Linked DNA regions of Homo sapiens: region 2 is linked to region 1. Evidence: promoter capture Hi-C in 16 types of primary human blood cells and fetal thymus (Javierre and others, 2016). All regions are on one chromosome and are shown on one strand. Each heading gives the region's core, a stretch centred on a gene start or on the middle of the fragment in contact. The rest is flanking DNA. Distances are from core to core; before and after follow the strand shown.

Region 1 (3,628 bases), core at 408-2,907:
CGTCAAGTGCCACTTCCAACACCAAAGCCACTGCCTGGAACCTTAGCAGGGAGGTTGCCTTCCTTCCCCCTCGCCTTCCAGGTTAAACCAGGGACTGGGCGATGTTTCAGGAGAGGAAAACATCCAAAAGGCAGGTCAAACCACACATGACAATGCAAAGCAGAAACAGTTGCAAATACAATAGAGGGTAGGTTTTTGTTTCTTTTTAGGTTTTGCTCCAGAACATCACTGACTCGAGAATAAACGTCAGTCCCTACCTTTGTGGAACGTCCAACGCAGCTGGCTGGGGGAACACGAGGCCTTGCAGGGAGCGAGCCCCGGCCCCGGTCTGACGGAACACAGGCGACGCACGTGAAGTCCAGGCCCTATCCCAGCGCAGGCGGGCCTCCAGCGACCCACAGTTGTCACATATCCGGCCAGCGCCGACTCCCGAAGGCGCACTCCCCATACTCCACTCCGAGCACCGGTCCCATCGTTAGGGAAGGTCCCCCTGGATAGCAAGGCCGGGGCCCAGGATCTGCGAGACCCACCCCACCCGCCCCGTCAGAGCCCAGGAGCAGCAACAGGTCTGCGCTCTCCCCGGGCGGCGCTCTGCAGACCCTCGACGGGCCAAGGGTGCCCCCAGCCCAGCCGTGCGCTCAGGCCGGGGAGATGGGCGGAGGACTGGGGCTCCCGACTTCCTTGACAGTTTCTGCGCGTCAGAAACTGAGCAGACACGGGGCCCGCGCCACCTCGCCCGCCGCTTGCCCCACTCCGCGAGGCTGCGCTTCCACCCGGGTCCGGGAGGGCCGGCCCGCGTCCCGGGTATGAATGGGGCTCTTCTCCCCAACAGCGGGGAAATCCCGCCACCGCCCTCCACCCCGGTCCCCGGAGCCCGCGGTGGCGCAGGTTTGCCCAGCAAGCCCCTGAATCGGCAGACAAAGGGGCACCGGAGGAAAAGCCGAGCGCTTCCCTAAACTTACCGGCCACTTCCCCCTCCCCAAAACAAAGGAGCCCCCCGCCGACCTCCGTCTCTCCCCGCAAGGCGCGCCGGCACTTCGGGGAGCGGCCACCTCGGGGTATTGTTCAGGCTCCTGGGAGCGCGCCGCACCCCAGTCCGAGCGCCGCGGGGACAGTTGGCGACCTGCACCTACAGGAGTTCCAGGGGCGGGTGGAGCGTTCGGGCGCCCCGAGCCGCCGGCCGGACCCTGGAGGGTCAGCGCGGGACCCGCCTCCCCGCAGAAGTTTGCGGACCCCGCGCCCGGCCCGCCGAGCCCTGCGCACTCACCTCGTCGCGAGCAGCGCAACTTGTGGCGGCGCCGCGCGCCCGGCCGCGCTCCGAACCTCCCTCCAGCCGGCAGCCTCCGAGTCCCGGCCGTGCGGCGGCCGAAGAGGGCCCGGCGCCCCGGAGCAGCCGCGCGCCGCCCCCGGGCCGCCCCCGCCCCGCCGCCGCCGAGTCCCGGAGAGAGCGCGGGCGCTGGAAAGTTTCGGTGGCGAATGGCGGCCTGAGGGCGCTGCGGCGGCGGCGGGGCGGGGGCGCTGGCGGCTCCTCGCTCCCAAGCGCGGAGTGGGGGCGCTGAGGCGGGCGCGGCGGCGGCGGCGGCGGCAGCGGGAGAGGGCGGGACAGCGGGAGGGACTGGCACGGACAGTGACCTCCACGGGGAGCTGCCGCGAGCGCGCGGACCCCAGCCAGGAGGACCGCCAGGGGTCCGCCCCCGCCGCCGGCCCCTCCCTCACGGCCGTGGGAGGGGACCCGGCGTACCACCCGGCCCCGCCCCTGCGCCCCGGGGGAGCCGCGTCCCGAACCAGCCCCTCCCCTACGAGGGTAGGGACTCCGGCCCTGCCCCTCCCCCGCGGCTCCTAGTGGGGACCCGCGTCCCAACCCAGCCCCTGTCCCACGGTCGGGGGACCAGCGTCCCTACCAAGCCCGCCCCGCTCCCCCACGCCTAGGGTGGGTGAGGGGAACCCGGGCCTCTCCCTAGTTGCTCTGGTCCCGGTCCCTTCCCCGTGGCCTCCGTGGGACTGAGAGGACCCCAGGGCTACCCCCATCACATCCCAAACCCAGCCTTTCCACGACTGCCTCGAGGGGACGGGAACCTCGGCCACCCCCTCAGTTTCTAGGGGGCAGGGGAACCTCGATCACTGCTAAAGTGTTACCCTCCCCCACCCCAAAAAGGAAGCCACCCGGCTGCCCCAACAGAACCCCCTGCCACCTGCCCGATGGTGAATCTCCCTCAAAATCGGCGTCTTAGAAGACACCCCAGTAGTCTTTACCCCAGCTCAAAAAGTGGGGGTTCCGGCGGAGCCTCGACCTTTGCAAAACACCTCCCAAGAAGAGCCAGAAATGCTTAGGGACAAACTCAGACACACAGGCATAGGCGCCAGGAACTCGGGTGTGGGGGCTGAGGAGGTTGGGGGGACCTGGGCACTCGGGCCTCATCACTCCCACCCCAACCCCCCAGGCATCAGCCCTCTGGCCCTTGCAAAGTGCTTTATGTTGCAATGGCTTACACGGCCTGGCCCCGGTGTACCTAAGTCCCCAGCGCTCCTTCCTCCCCTCCACGTAGGCTACTCCCAACCACTCGCAGCCTTAATTCAGTTAAACAGATCTCCACTCCCCCTCCCCAGCACCTCTGGGGTCAGCCTCGTTGAATATTTTTCAAATATTCTTGCCCCTTCCTTTACTATATAATGAGCTTCGTGCTAAGAGCCCGGTACACTCAGCAATCTAAACTATAACCTCACTTGCTCTTCCTCGAACTCTAGACCATTTGTTGTTCTGGTTGTAGGGGGAGGGGGACCTAAGGTGAGGTTTTTGTTTTTTTGTTTTTGTTTTTGTTTTTCTGAGGAGTCTCGCTCTGTCGCCCAAGCTGGAGTGCAGTGGCGCGCTGTCGGCTCATTGCAACCTCCACCACCCTGGTTCAAGCAATTCCCCTGCCTCAGCCTCCCGAGTAGCTGGGATTACAGGCGCATGCCACCACGCCCAGCTAATTTTTTTTGTATTTTTAGTAGAGACGGGGTTTCACCATATTGGCCAGACTGGTCTGAACTCCTGACCTCAGGCAATCCGCCGGCCTCGGCCTCCCAAAGTGCTGGGATTACAGGCGTGAGCCACCGTGCCCGGCCGGAGGTGAGTTTTTAAGAGGCCGGTCCTCCACCAAAACGGCGGACCTCAAAATTACCCTGCAAAATATTGCTGTAAAACGTCAATGATGCAAAACGACTGTTGCTACACCATCATTAGAGGACATCAATAAAAAAATACACACTTACACAGTCTCCATAATTGTGAATCAGCAGAATAGATTGTGTCTTATTATGTATCAGTTGCCATTCAAGGCCCCCCAGAAGGACATGGTGGGGCCTTCCCTTGAGCCTGCCCTTCGTTGCTCCTGGGCTCCCTGGGCTTGTGCAGACTGATGCTGAGGTATTACATGCAATAGAAAAACGAAGGGTGCAATAGAAAACCCGAACGAGCTCATGATGCAACCCTGCCCTGGCTACACGTGCTTCCCTTCCCCCACCGCCTGCTGGTGGGAGTGCTGCGTTTTTTCCGCCTGTAGGGTCACATTGTGGTTGATTGATTCTCCTTTCGCCTTGCTCAGTCATTCAGATTTGGAAAGTAAATAACAAGTTGACATCATTACAG
Region 2 (3,438 bases), core at 71-2,570, 510 kb after region 1:
TGGCTTTAAAATTAGCAAATTGATTCAATTTTTGTGCCTTGTGATCAAGAAGCCTGGCTTGTTTGTGAATGTGTATCATAGCTTCACAGGTAAGAGGTATACTGTTTTCTTCAAAACTATTAAGAAAAAAAAATGCTCAGCTTAGTTCTATATATTGATTTAGTATCTTAAGATTTTTGAATGTCTTTTATAATCATTATCTTAATCATTCCCAATTCTGTGTTTTAAAGAGAAGGTATTTTCATGTATTGTTATGGGCTGAATTGTGCTCCTCTAAATTCAGATGTTGGAGTCCTAACCCCCAGGACCTCAGTATGTGACTGTATTTGGAGATAGAGCTTTTAAAGAAATGATTAAGGTAAAATAAAGTCATTTGGGCGAGCCCTGATCCAACAGGACTGGTGTCCTTATAAGAAGAGGAGATTAGGACAAAGACAAACACAGAAGGATGACCATTTGAGAACACAGCGAAAGAGGGCATCTCCAAGCCAAGGAGAGAGGTCTCAGGAGGAACCAGCCCTGCCCACACCTGGATCTCGGACTTCCAGCATCCAGGATGGCAAGAGAACAATTTCTGTTAAGTCCCCCAAAGGCAACCCTAGCAAACGAATGCACTGATCTGACATGGTATTTAAAATGTTTCAAAACTTACGAAAGGAATGGAATTTGAAGGGAGTAGTGTAGATGAGAAAGCTCCAAGTAAACCTGTAGTTTTAAGATGGTAAATATAGATCTGATTGACTTAAAGAGAACTCTGTCAATGTAATGGCAGGTTAGACAGAGCAAAGCTATTGATGAATATAAAGGAATAAATTTGCTTATTAATATGTCCTTAATTCCTCATCTCTGCTAATGGCAGAGTTTTCCAAATTGGGTACTATTGATATTTGGGTCAGATAATTCTTTTTTACGGTGGGGGCCACCCTGCTGTGTGGGCTGTTCAGCAGCAGCCCTGGCCTCTACTCACTCTATGCCAGGAGAACCCCCATTTCCCAGCTGTAACAACCCTAAAATACCTCTAGCCATTGCAAAATATTCCTGGGGCTAAAAAATTACCCCTCTTCCCCAGTGGAGAACCACTGGTTTATGGGTACTGTGGGCGACCAGAAAAATGGAATACACGCTGTCGCTTGCAGGTTTTTCTAAATCTGGCCTGCAGATTCCCCGTGGTAGACAGAATAATGCCCAATCCTTTGCCCTGGAAAGACGCTTACGGCCCAGAACCTGTGAATATGTTGCTTTAGACCACAAAAGGGATTTTTGCAGATGTAAGTAAGATTAGAGACCCTGGGATGAGAGTATTTTGAATCATCTAGAGGGCCTGATGTTATCTTAAAGTATTCTTAACATCAGAGAACCTGCCCAACTGAGGTTAGAGAGAAAGAAACAGATATGAGGAAGAAAGCAGGGTCCGAGAGATAAGGCTGCCTGCTTTGAAGACAGATGAAGGGGCCGTCAGACAAGGAATGCAGGTGGCTTGAAAGCAGATTCTCCACTCTAGAAGGAAAACAGCCCTATTGACACCTTGATCTTAGTGCAGCAAGGCTCTTATCAGACTTCTGGCCTGCCAAACTGTGAGATAATAAATTCATGATGTTGGAGGCCATTGGGTTTGTGGTAATTTGTTATAGCAGCAATAGTAGACCAATTATACCACCTCCATCAGAATGCCCTGGAGTGGGCTACAAACACAGATTCTTAGGCTGTGCTCCAACCTAAAGGATCAGAATCTTCTGGAGGTGGAGCCTAAGAATCTGCATTTTAAACCAGCACACAGAACGGGATTGGTGGCCATCTAAAATCTGAGAACCATTGTGTTGTGTGTCTAAGGACAGTTTTCCTGTGTGACTGTTACAAAGTAATCCTCCACCTCTGAAGGCAAAAGATTTCTGAAAAAAAATCTTTCTAAAACTCTAAGCATTTTTCCCCCTGAAATTAGGGGGAAAAAAGGAAGAAAAAGTTTTTGTCCAGCATTATAACCGCATTCAGTTTGTATGCAGTGGATTTGACTATTTTAATGAAAGGAGCTGACATTTCTTTATTCTCTTTGGAAGCATCTGATTCCAAGTTGGGACCAGGGCAGCTGTGTCCCATGGGAGTTCCAGACTCAATATCCCAGGTGTTAGCAAAGCCCTACTATCTAAGGCATAACCCAGTGCCCCCGACAGGTCTCTCCCGGCTCCAAACAAATTCGCATGGGTGTGCCAGCCTCCCCAGCACTCCTGCCATCGTACAGATCTGATGCCAAGATGAGCTTAGGAGATGATGTTTATGAGAGCAATGCCGAGTTTCATGGAGTTGACATGTCAATCTTGAGAAAGAACTAGACAGGCTGTGTACTCCCAGCACCGCTCACCTCACCATTGGTGTGGGTCCCAGACAGGGAGGCATGGTTGACGTCGTGCTCTGGCCCCGGATTTCAATAGGAATCAGGGCTTCTAAGATTCTGCACCTGTCTAGCCAGATGATAAATAATTCCCTTCTTATTTGTGAGGCAGGAAGTACACAGTTATCCAGGATGCTTTGTTAGGCTTCATGGGGAAAAAGAAAGAGAGCTGCTCCGGGTGAGGATCTGACGGAGGTTATTTTAGTGCAGGTGTGGGCTAAAAGAATGGAGAAATGCTACAGGTTTTGTCTGTCTCCCATCTCATCTTCCTGTGTGGGTGTGGCAGGGCTTTCATGCTCAAGAGAAGAAGTTTTTCACACAATTATATCCCCCAAAATAGTAGTATAAAACTGACTACTTCGCCAGAAGAAGGAAGGTTGAACAAGATGTCTCAGAAACTTCAATTTCACAAGAATAAAGACACATCTATTGTTTTACTGAATTATCAACAATGGCATAAGGAATGAGTATTGGTCAGTCAGGAACTGAGAATTTGACTCTAATTCCGTTCTACCCCAGGGGCTGTATATATTTTTAAAAGCTCTTTAAAATGTTCCACTGGAAATTCTTACAGGTTTGGTATCTGTTAAAATTACATAATAATGGAAATATAGGTCAAGGATTTCAACCTTTTGTATTATTGAAAAAAGGGATGAAGCTTACGTGGAGATGCTAAAAAAGCTAAACATAAAATTGCCATACAATCCCGTGATCCTACTTGCAGGTATATACCTCAAAGAATTGAAAACTGGGACTCAGGTACTTGTATGTCAATGTTCATAGCAGCATTATTCACAATAGCCAAAAGGTGGAAATAACTCAAATGTGGGTCAACAGATGAATGGATAAACAAATGTACATGTACATGCAATGACCTCTTATTCAGCCTTAAACGGGAATGTTCTGATATATGGTACATGGATGAACCCTGAGGACATTGTGCTAAGTGAAATATGCCAGACATAAAAGGACAATACGTTATGATTCCACTTTTATGAAGTTCTTAGAGTAGTTGAGTCCATAAAAGCAGAAAGTGGAATCCTGATTGCCAG

The links. The method cuts DNA at HindIII sites, captures the fragments that hold promoters and counts their contacts. A CHiCAGO score of 5 or more calls a contact.
Region 2: a fragment that was not itself captured here is called in contact with the fragment with the promoter of TBL1X in region 1 in 12 of 17 cell types (non-activated CD4 T cells, M0 macrophages, activated CD4 T cells and 9 more); the score reaches 11.6 in non-activated CD4 T cells.

The regions. Positions count from the first base shown.
Region 1 is chrX:9,463,087-9,466,714 of GRCh38, reverse strand. TBL1X (transducin beta like 1 X-linked) reads right to left here and starts at 1,657. Exons shown (of 18, transcript NM_005647.4): 1 at 1,268-1,657. RefSeq lists silencers at 682-831, 1,132-1,271, 1,392-1,971 and enhancers at 2,202-2,401, 2,229-3,057, 3,432-3,628. The HindIII fragment of the contact is 11,363 bases long and covers 1-3,628 here.
Region 2 is chrX:8,950,347-8,953,784 of GRCh38, reverse strand. No RefSeq gene overlaps it. Among named protein-coding and RNA genes, the nearest start is that of LINC03114, 25 kb to the right of the region's middle. The HindIII fragment of the contact is 3,453 bases long and covers 1-3,046 here.